Linked DNA regions of Homo sapiens: regions 1, 2 and 3 are each linked to region 4. The links are contacts of gene promoters, found by promoter capture Hi-C in blood cells and fetal thymus (Javierre and others, 2016). All regions are on one chromosome and are shown on one strand. Each heading gives the region's core, a stretch centred on a gene start or on the middle of the fragment in contact. The rest is flanking DNA. Distances are from core to core; before and after follow the strand shown. Region 1 overlaps CSMD2 (CUB and Sushi multiple domains 2). Region 2 overlaps CSMD2 (CUB and Sushi multiple domains 2). Region 3 has its middle 14 kb from the start of ZSCAN20. Region 4 holds the start of TRIM62 (tripartite motif containing 62).

The links. The method cuts DNA at HindIII sites, captures the fragments that hold promoters and counts their contacts. A CHiCAGO score of 5 or more calls a contact.
Region 1: a contact is called between a fragment that was not itself captured here and the fragment with the promoter of TRIM62 in region 4, in 1 of 17 cell types (M0 macrophages). The highest score is 5.8, in M0 macrophages.
Region 2: a fragment that was not itself captured here is called in contact with the fragment with the promoter of TRIM62 in region 4 in 1 of 17 cell types (M2 macrophages); the score reaches 6.4 in M2 macrophages.
Region 3: a fragment that was not itself captured here is called in contact with the fragment with the promoter of TRIM62 in region 4 in 1 of 17 cell types (endothelial precursors); the score reaches 6.0 in endothelial precursors.

What each region holds. Positions count from the first base shown.
Region 1 is chr1:33,611,358-33,614,057 of GRCh38, reverse strand. All of the region lies in intron 40 of CSMD2 (CUB and Sushi multiple domains 2), which reads left to right. Among named protein-coding and RNA genes, the nearest start is that of ZSCAN20, 140 kb to the right of the region's middle. The HindIII fragment of the contact is 3,817 bases long and covers 1-2,700 here.
Region 2 is chr1:33,564,704-33,567,403 of GRCh38, reverse strand. All of the region lies in intron 53 of CSMD2 (CUB and Sushi multiple domains 2), which reads left to right. Among named protein-coding and RNA genes, the nearest start is that of ZSCAN20, 93 kb to the right of the region's middle. The HindIII fragment of the contact is 1,919 bases long and covers 375-2,293 here.
Region 3 is chr1:33,456,858-33,459,557 of GRCh38, reverse strand. No RefSeq gene overlaps it. Among named protein-coding and RNA genes, the nearest start is that of ZSCAN20, 14 kb to the left of the region's middle. The HindIII fragment of the contact is 645 bases long and covers 1,122-1,766 here.
Region 4 is chr1:33,180,676-33,183,375 of GRCh38, reverse strand. TRIM62 (tripartite motif containing 62) reads left to right here and starts at 1,333. Exons shown (of 5, transcript NM_018207.3): 1 at 1,333-2,351. The coding sequence starts at 1,944. It also overlaps a transcript of ZNF362 not described here. RefSeq lists silencers at 1,159-1,468, 1,699-1,768, 2,359-2,558 and an enhancer at 2,641-2,700. The HindIII fragment of the contact is 3,969 bases long and covers 1-2,700 here.

The DNA of each region.
Region 1 (2,700 bases), core at 1-2,500, 430 kb before region 4:
TGAGCCAAATCAATGAGAAATCGAGTTTGCATTCTTCTTCGTATGCACATTCTAGCTGGCCTAGAGACTGGGAAGGTTGTTTTTTTGGTTTTGGGGGGTTATTTTTGTTTTGTTTTGTTTTTGGAGCTGGAGTATGCTAGGCATGGGAGGTTGTCAGGGTGTGGAGGACATCAGTGTGGGTACAAAATGTAATTGCTGGTGATCCACATATTATGCACTGGGAATATCATTTAACCCAAATGTCTCTGTTGAAGGGATGAGGGCTTTGTGCTGACATGGAACTGATGGGCCGTACGCACGGGTCATCTTGCCCAAGCCATTGCACTGCTTCTAGGAATGAAATGTCCCAAGGGGATTATGCCTGCATAGCCCTGAATGCCAGTCTGTGAGCCTCAGAAATGAAGATCTCCCATTTTATCCTTCATTATTCAGCCTGGAGTGTGATTAGAGATTAGGGAAGGGGCTTTTGGGAGAAAGCAGTCTAACTGGCCTTCTCTAAATCCGGTTGGAGGGGAGGAGAGAGCTTGGTGGCCCTCTGAAAGATGTTATTTTCTGTTCAGTACCATCTTCTGAAGGAAACTGGGTGTTCAGTACCATCTTCTGAAGGAAACTGGGAGCAAAGCGATGACGCCCTCGGCAGTCTTAGGAGACTCCAGACTTTGAGACATTAAGAGGATCTGGGAGACCCTGTACCTCTGCATCCAGTCTTGAGGCAGAACCAAGATGATAGAAGGTGGGGAGGGCAACATCCAAAGGCAAACAGAAGTTTGAATGAGGTGGCTTTCCCTGTAAGTCCTTATGTTCAGCCACCATTTTCACCTCTAAATTCTGGGTGCTAATTCAGGTTTCAGGGAAGAAGCTACTGCTGGGTCCAGTTGCAAAGGCCCGGGATCCCTTGCTTTCAAGTTAATGTTGGATTCTGCCGAGGTCCCTAACTTGGTACCTGGTCTCAGCGTGTAAAGAGCTGCTGCAGCTACATGCTGCTCCACTAGATGGCGGTCACAGTCCAGTTCTTTCCTTGGAGTTCAAGTCAGAAATTCCGCCATCCTTAAAGAGCCCCTTCTGTGGGCCTGCAGCCCGCAGGGCTCCTATATGAGGGGACGATGCCTGGGCAGTGGAATGGAAAGCACAGGCTCCTCAGATAATGTATACAAAGATGTCATCACAGCCTAACACGGTGAAAACCCGTCTCTACTAAAATACAAAAAATTAGCTGGGCCTGGTGGCGGGTGCCTGTAGTCCCAGCTACTTGGGAGGCTGAGGCAGGAGAATGGTGTGAACCCGGGAGGCGGAGCTTGCAGTGAGCCAAGATCGTGCCACTGCACTCCAGCCCGGGCGACCGAACAAGACTCTGTCTCAAAAAAAAAAAAAAAAACCATCACAAAATTATCTGCAACTTGGAAACAATCTGCATGTTCATGAGTTGGGGAGTGAACTGTATGGTTGGATAATTCATAAAATGGAATTAACATGCAGTTAAAATGAATGAACTATATTTTTGTATATTAACATGGATAGACCTTGAAAAACACAATATTATGTAAAAAACTGTATGTACAGTATAATATCATTTATGTAAATCTTGAAAACACATAAACCCAGATACATATTTAAGAATCCAAAACCATGAACTGGAAGGATAGCTTCCAAATTCATGTGATTGCTTCTGTGGAGGGCAGGAAAGGAATGGAACAGGGCAGGAGATGAAAGATCTTCAACATTAAGTGTCGAGTCTTTATTTTATTCTTTAAATGATCAGATGCAAAAAGAATTATACTCGTGCTTATTCTGAGCTTATTTGATAGCACAGATAAGCCAATTTTAAAAATGAAAATCCATCTATAATCTCATCGTGCAGCGATAATCACTAATGGCTTAGTCTCCCAGCGTTACCATGTAAGTCTCATGAAGACAAGGACCTTCTTGATCTTGCTCATCCTGTACAATGCCTAGCACAGCCCTGATGTACAGCAAATGCCCAGCAAATATTCCTAGCAGGCAAATTAATATTCTTCCATGTTTTATAATACAAAAATTAGAATTGTATACAGCATACTATTTGTCATCTGATTTTTACAATTATCAATGCAATATGGGCTTTTTCCTATGCTCAGTAAATATATTTCTTCAATAACATTTTCCATGGTGATCTAATTTTGAAAAATCTTATCAGTAAACAAACATAAATGTTCCCACCTTCGTTCTTGAAAGAGTATATTACTATGTACATTAAGAACTTAATTAGATTTATTTAACCTGTCAGGTTGCTAGAATGTCTTGATTAACTCACTAAGATCCCAAAGTAGAAACTTTATTTGGCTTCTTTATGGAACAGAGGGGACAATGTATACTTCTAAGCCCTACGTTTCTGAATTATCATAAGAGTTCTAGAAAACAGCAGTATTGAAGGTCTTGTCTTTTGATTAAGTATTGGGGGTGTTATTTTTAAATGAAAAGTTTATTCTAGCAAAACTATCTTTATGCTGATATTGGACATATGAATCATAAATTTAAACAAGTGTTGACCCTGAACTTTGTTTTCAACAAAATAAAATGAACTCCAGTGGAGCTCTGAAATGACTGATGCCTTTATTTTTGAATGAATAATACACTTTTAAGTTCAGCCCTGTCAAAGACAAGAGACTTGGCTGGACGGGCAATTCCCAAAGCCAGTTCTAGGAGCCTTGGCTGGGTGGGAAA
Region 2 (2,700 bases), core at 85-2,584, 380 kb before region 4:
TTTTCACCTTTATTATTTCCTTCCTTGTGATTTCTTTTGGTTTACATTTTTGTTCATTTTCTAGCTTTTGAGTAGGAATTTAATTCATTTATTTTCATTCTTTCATTTCTATTGAGTTTTATTGCTATAAGTGCTTAAGACTATGAAATTTCCTCTGATCACTGCTTTAATTGTATCCTATAGAGTCTAATAATAAATGTTTATTATTTATTAGAAATTCTGTAATTTTGGTATTGATTTCCCCTTTTACATAGAAAATTTTTAATAGAAGGATTTGTTTCTAGGTGGAAGGCCCTTTTTTTTCATTGTGTTATTCATTTCTAATTTTATTGCATTGTATGTAATATTTCTACTTCATGGAATTGACTGAAGCTTTCTTTGTGACCTAATAGTTGGTCAGTTGTTATGAATGTCCCATGTGCACTTGAGAAGAAAGGATATTAGGATGTCATGTTTTATTTATATATTCATGAGATATATCTGATTGATTATGTTGTCTATGTCCTTTACATTCTTACTTTTCACCCACTCAATCTGTTTTATTCTGAGAGATGTGTTTAAAGTTTTCTATTATTAGTGTGTTTCTGTTTTTCCTTGCACTTCCTGTAGTTTCTGTTCTATAAAGATGGTTGCTGTCTTATTTGGTGCATAGATATTCATAACTAGTATCTCCATTGCACATTGTGGTTTTTAGCCTTTAAAGATTACTTTTTTGTCACTTTTAACATTTTTTAGCTAGAATTGTACTTTGCTTGATATTAGGCTTACAACCCCTGCTTTAATTCTTTTGCCTGATGCACCTTTGACCATTCTATTTTAGCCTTCTGCTTCTCTTAGGTGTGATTCTTGTATGCAGTATAAATTGCCTTATAAGCTAACTTAACCATCTTTTTCTTTTAGTTGGTTAGTTAAACTCATTCACATATATTAATATGACTGATATGTTCGGTCTTAATTTTGCCGTCTCCCATTTCCCCCACTTCTCCACCCATGGTAACCACCATTCTGCTCTCTGTTTCTACGTATTTGACTTTTGGAATTATAATATTAGTTTAATTCTATTTTTCTTATAGGTTATTTGGTTGTTTTTTTTTTTTGAGGTTCCTGATTATTTTTCCCTTTATCCTAAAGTCTAATATTTTTACTAGGACATGCTTCAGAGTTAATTATTCCAAGACAATTTCCTTAGGTATTCTATGGGTCTTTGAATATATAGATTCAGGTCTTTCTTTATTTCCAAAGACTTTTCTTGGATTATGGTTTTAAACACTGATATTGCTTTGTTTCCCACTGTTTTTTTTTTCTTCTTCATCAGCTCTGATTATGTGTATGTTGAATCTTCTTTGCCTATCTTCTCTCTCAGCCTCTCTCTCATTATTTTCACCTCTTTATCTCATTTTAATTCCCTTGGTTTTTTGCCTGACTTTCTTGAGTAACTCTTATTAAATTATCATTTGAGAATATTCTTTCTTGGGCCTCTTATAATTTAGTCTTCATTTCTCAGATGGTTTTGTCTTTTTCTTTTATCTCTTTAAAGCATACAATCAGTTATCTTTTATATTCTTCCACCTTTTGTCCATTTGTGCTGTTTAGTTTTTGATTTTCTGATTTTCATGGTGGTTTTTAAAATATCTCCAGATGCTTATTTGAGAATATTTAGTTCAGTTTAGAATGCTGCTACATTTTTCTTACGCTTCACATGTTTTGTTTTTGGTGAGGAGGTTTTCATCAGATGAAATTCTTGAATTCTTTTCTATTTTTTTCTTAAAGTAGCTTCGTATACATTTAGGTTGATGTCTTCTATTCATTTTATGGCTTTAGTGTGGTTTAGTAGTACCCTCTTCTGTCAGTGTTACAAAGTCTTTCTCTCTGATTGTTTTTACTTCTTTATCTCATTTTGATTATCTTGGATGTTTGCCTTTGTTTTGTTTATTTATTTTTTTTAATATAAGGTTTTGTGTGTGGTAAGGAAGAGGTTGTGTGTCCTTCATTTTTGTTTGTTTGCGTGTTTTTCTTTTGTCTTGCAGAACCCCAGGTTTTCCCATCATTGCTTCTTATTCCCTTTATCACTCAGAGGATGTCACTTTCTTTTCTTCCAGAAGCAATGAGGGAGAATCACACACACTTTTATGTCCCTTTTCTGTGGTTGTACATTGACATACCAAGATTTGTTTTCAGTATATTCATATATGAGATGGATTTTCTCCTTCTGGCAGTGATTTTAGATCAGTGTTAAGCCCTTCACCTGCTCCTCTCTTCTCTTTCTCATACAGTCTTGCTCTCCACAAAAGCTTGCAACAGAACCATGAGAAGTAACTCTGCCTGGGCTTAGTGTATATTTCTCTTACATGTAATTTAAAGTTTGTAGCACTCTCTGGCTTCTAGTTAGGCTGCAGGCCTGGGTTTTCTATTATTTATTCTTCTGGTTAATCTGCATTTTTTTGATTTAGGCAATCACTGTTATGCTTAGCTGCCTGGAAGTAATTTGGATAATTCTTCACTTTTTAAATTTCCCTAAAGTGAGCCTTTATGTAAAGTGCAAGTTTTCCTTCTTAATTTTTGTAAGGCAGTTTTTTTATTTTAATTCTTCTTTTGGCTTTTTATATATGGGATGGGGCCATAAAATAATGAGAACTTCTCAAAAAACAATGCCTGAAATTAGTCTTAATAACTTCTTAAGGGTTACAGAAAGCAAGACCC
Region 3 (2,700 bases), core at 195-2,694, 280 kb before region 4:
CAATGGTCTCTTGACTTGTCTCTCTGCTTTCATTCTTGCCCCCTGCAACCCATCCTCCACACAGAATCTCGAGTGAGTTTTTAAAAATATACCATGGCTGGGCGCAGTGGTTCATGCTGGTAATCCCAGCACTTTGGGAGGCCAAGGTGGGAAGATCACTTGAGGTCAGGAGTTTGAGACCAGCCTGGCCAACATGGTAAAACCCCATCTCTACTAAAAATACAAAAAAAAAAAAAATTAACCGGGTGTGCTGGCAGGCACCTGTAATCCTAGCTACTCAGGAGGCTGAGACACGAGAATTGTTTGAACCTGGGAGGCAGGGATTGAAGTGAGCCAAGATCGCACCATTGCACTCCAGCCTGGGAGACAAAGCGAGACTCTGTCTCAATAAATAAATAAATAAATAAATAAATAAATAAATAAATAAAAATATAAACCATATCACAGCACTCTCTTGCTTAAGCCCTTCAATGGCTTCCCATCACATTTATAATTTTTTTTTGTCTGACCTACAATGCCTTACCTGAGCTGGTTCTCACCCACCATTGAATACCAACCATGCAACTCCCCCCATCTCTCTCTCTCTCTTTCCCAACACACTTGGCCTTCTCTCTGCTGATCAGAAGGGCCACGCCCACCTCCACCTAAGGGCTTTTGCAGTAGCTGTTCTCTTTCCCTGGTAAGCTCTGCCCACCTGTGATGGGTTTTTGCTTTTGTATTCTGGAAGGTTTGTTGTTTGTAGATGTGTCTGTGTGTATGCATGCGTGTGTGTGTGTGTGTGTGTCTGTTTTTACTAACCATGAGTTAATGCTACAAGACTGATGGTTTTAAATATGAGTCACCACGTTAGGAACTTTTGCCTGAGACAAAACAATACTCCCAGGACATTGAGAGGCTCTGTTCTCCCACCCTATTTTCTTAGCAGATAGCATGACTTTGAACCTAAAACAAAATAAAACTCTTTGAAGTCTTTCCAACAATGAAAAGACATAATTTGGTAATAATAACAATAATATGAAAACAAAATAGAATTTAAGACAAATCATTAAGTGATTAAAGAGGATCATGTGGAAATAATAAAAGCTCTATTACTAGAGCCACAAAACACACACATCAAAGCTTTTAGAACTATAAGGAGAAGGTGACAGAAGCACAATTGTAGTTTTTATTTATTCACCCAACAATGTGCCAGGCACTGCGCTAGGTGGTGGGGAATAAGCAGTGAACAAAACATCTAAAATTCCTGAGACTGTGGAGCTTACTTTTAATGGGAGAAAACAGACAATTTTTAAAGTAAATATACAATATATTATATAATCATGAGTTATATGGTGAAAAATAAAGCAATGGGCCGGGCACGGTGGCTCACGCCTGTAATCCCAGCACTTTGGGAGGCTGAGGCAGGCGGATCATGAGGTCAGGAGATCGAGACCATCCTGGCTAACACAGTGAAACCCCGTCTCTTCTAATAATACAAAAAAATAGCTGGGCGTGGTGGCGGGCGTCTGTAGTCCCAGCTACTCGGGAGGCTGAGGCAGGAGAATGGCGTGAACCTGGGAGGCGGAGCTTGCAGTGAGCCGAGATTGCGCCACTGCACTCCAGCCTGGGTGATAGAGCGAGACTCCATCTCAAAAAAAAAAAAAAGAAAGAAAGAAAAATAAAGCAATGAAGGTGGATGGGGAGAAACAAGGGTAGGAATCAAGGTAGAATTTTAAGTAATGTGTCTAAGAAGACCTCTCTAGTGAGGTGACATTTGAACAGAAGCTTGAAGAATGGAGAGGGAACCACCCATCTCTCTGGCAGAGGAAGCAGCAAGTGCAAAGGCCCTAAGGTGGGAGGTGGAAGCCAGGAGGCCAGGGCGGCTAAAGTGGAATGAGCCAGAAGAGGGATAGCGGATGAAATCAGAGACATCTGCAGGGCATAGCCGCTCAGGGTGGCGCCGTAGACTGTTGTCAGGACTCTGGCTTTTATTCTGTATGAGATATGGGGTCATTAGAGGGTTTTCATCAGAGGAGTGACACAAGCCTGTTTATACTATCAAAGAATCATTCGGGCTGCTATGATAAGAGCAGAATTGCTGGGGATAGTGGTGGTTGCATGAGGACAGAAGCAGAGGGATAAGTGAGGAGTTGTTGCATTAAGTCAGGTGTAAGATAATGTGGGCTTGAACCCTGGTGATAGACTTGGGATTAAGAGGTTAAGACATGGTTAAATTCTGGATATATTTTGAAGATGGAACTGACAGCATTGGCTGATGAGTTGGACGTGGGGTGTGAGGAAAGAGAAGTCAAGGATGATGCCAAGACTGTGGGAGAACAGATTTAGAAGAATTAGTTCAACTTTTAAAGTACTCAGTTTAAAATGACTGTTATAGGCCAGGGGTGGTGCCTCATGCCTATAATCCCAGCATCTTGTGAGGCCAAGGCAGGTAAATTGCTTGAGCCCAGGAGTTTGAGACTAGCCTGAGTAACATGGTGAAGTCCCATCTCTACAAAAACATACAAAAATTTTCTGGGCGTGGTGGCACATGCCTGTAGTCCCAGCTACTCAGGAGGCTGAGGTGGGAGAATCACTTGAGCCCAGGAGATAGACCCTGCAGTGAGCTGTGATTGCACCATTGCCCTCCAGCCTGGATGACAGAGTGAGACCCTGTCTCAAAATAAATAAATAAAACAAAACAAAACAAAATGACTATTATAT
Region 4 (2,700 bases), core at 84-2,583:
CCAGATGAGGGTGTGATGGAGAAAGTGTTAACCATAGAGAACTAAACTGAGAGCTTTTTCATAAACTGTACCTCAATAAAGTTTAACACCAATGAAGATATTTCTGGAGGAGGCAGAAACTGGTAGCCACCCTCTATGGCTCATTTCCCTCACCCCCGTATCCAACCATCACCAAATGTCACCGTGTCTGTACTTGCAATACCCTAGTCTTCTCTCCTTACCCACTGCTGAGGCCCCAGTTCGGGTCTCACCTCCTGCAGGCACGATGACAACAGCACCTTAGGGGTGCCCAGTCTTTCCTTCCTCCTGCAACCCAGGGCGTTGATGCGGTTATTCAGCTACACACCTTTACTGTGTGCTGAGTGCTGTGCATCCGCAGACACATTGGAAAAGCTCCCTGTCTTCTTCACCTTGCAGATGGTATAATGATTATCTCCAAGACTTCCTGAAACCCAATCGGACCAGGTCATTCCCTTGCCTGAAAGCCCCATGCCTTCAAGAAATTCTTTACCATGACCCACAATGCCCTCCAGCCCACCCAGGCTCCTTCTCCACCCCACCCCCAACAGTACAGAATTACTAGCACTTCCTTCACTGCGCCCTCCCCTTTCACGCCTCTATGCTTTTGCACAGGCTGTCTCCTCTGCCTAGAAATCCCTTATCCCCTCTCCATCTGGCACACAAGACAAGTTCTCCTATTACTTTTTCTCCCTCTCTCCTGCTCCACCCCTCACCGCCTTACACACACACACACACACACACACACACACACACAAATACAGCACTCCAGAATTGTTTGCCAATGGAGGCAGCCTCCGGGGCCAGATGTTAGCCAGGGCTTTCCAAACTTCTCCCCAAGCACTCCTTAAGAAAGTGAAGAGGAAATGGGACCCCAGGGCTTAGGAGTGTGAGGGCCTTGAACTCGCTCTAAGCAAGCAGGGCATTTCAAGAGTTTTATCTTTATATTTTATGCAGAAGTTGTATTCCAAATATATTCTTGTTCGTTTTAATACAAAATATGATTTTTTCTACATCTTCAAATCGATGATCCAGAAAGATGCTCCTTGTTTATTTGTTGTGCTCTCAAATTAGCTGCTCCGCCTCGCCGCGGGGACCCTAAGCGAGACCTGGATGCAGTTCCAAGTACACACCCCGAAGGAACAGCTGGGCTTCGCTTCCCTGGGAGCTGGAGGATGGTGGGGGTGGGGCGGGGTCAACCGGCTGGTGGCCCCGCCCCTCCCCCGCCCGCTGCGGGGGCGGAGTTGCTTGGGTCCCGCCCACGGGGGCGGGGAGGCAGCCGCGGCCACCGGCAGCTCGGATTCGGCTGGTTCCGGGTTGAGAGGCTGCGCTGGACCGAAGCGGTGGCTGCTAAGCTCGCGGGGGTAAGGGGTCGCGCTGGGCCAGGGTTTGGGGCCGGGATCCGGCAGCTGAGCGGGCCGGCACCCCTCCTCTTCTCTGCCGGTCACAGCCAATGTACGGCTCGGCCTGGCTGCCCCCTCCCCCAGGATTCCCCATCCCCAGCTTCTCGCCCTCCCCGCACCGCCCCCACCCCGGGATTTCGACCCCCTTAAGGGCTCCACCCCGCTCCGGGATCCCCTTCTCCCAGCTCCTATCCCTTAGGACTGCCCCGCCCCCTAGAACCTCCCCGTCAGGATCTCCGTCCCTCAGCCGCTCACAGCCTCCTCCCAGCGCCCATCGCCTTGAGCTGCCCACTACCTCTAGACTGCCCTCCCGGGCTGGCGTCCCACGGAGTCTCAGCCGCGCACCCCTTCCTCGCGTTACCCTCCTTCCGGACAGCACCCCCTCCCTTCTCCGGTAGCTCCTACCCCTGCCTGTGCGGGCCTCGTCCCCGCGCCCAGCCCTCGGTGCTGCCTCCGACAGCGCCGCGCTCTCTCAGCCGCCCCCCTGCCCCTCGGGCCCCCCTCTCTGCTGCCCCTGGCGCCATGGCGTGCAGCCTCAAGGACGAGCTGCTGTGCTCCATCTGCCTGAGCATCTACCAGGACCCGGTGAGCCTGGGCTGCGAGCATTACTTCTGCCGCCGCTGCATCACGGAGCACTGGGTGCGGCAGGAGGCGCAGGGCGCCCGCGACTGCCCCGAGTGCCGGCGCACGTTCGCCGAGCCCGCGCTGGCGCCCAGCCTCAAGCTGGCCAACATCGTGGAGCGCTACAGCTCCTTCCCGCTGGACGCCATCCTCAACGCGCGCCGCGCCGCGCGACCCTGCCAGGCGCACGACAAGGTCAAGCTCTTCTGCCTCACGGACCGCGCGCTTCTCTGCTTCTTCTGCGACGAGCCTGCACTGCACGAGCAGCATCAGGTCACCGGCATCGACGACGCCTTCGACGAGCTGCAGGTGCGCTACCCGGCCTGCCTGGGGAAGGGGCGGGGCCGGGCTGGAGGTGGGGCCGGGCGGGGGGTGGGGTCAGGGCTGGACCGCGGGCCAGGCCCAGTCAGAATGGTCCTGGGGCGGGGCCGCCAGCAAGGTCAGGGCCCTATCAGGAGTAACGCGGGGCAGGGAGGGGCGGGGCCGCCGCATGGCGGGGCCGTGGGGGCGGGGCCTTGGGCAGTCCGGACCCTGAGGGATCTGAGACAGACCTGGAGTACCGGCTGGTCCGCGGTTAGGGAGAAGTCGGGGATGCGGATGGGATGGCGGAAACAAGTGAGATCAGAACTGGACCAGATACTGGGCTGGGGCAGGGTTG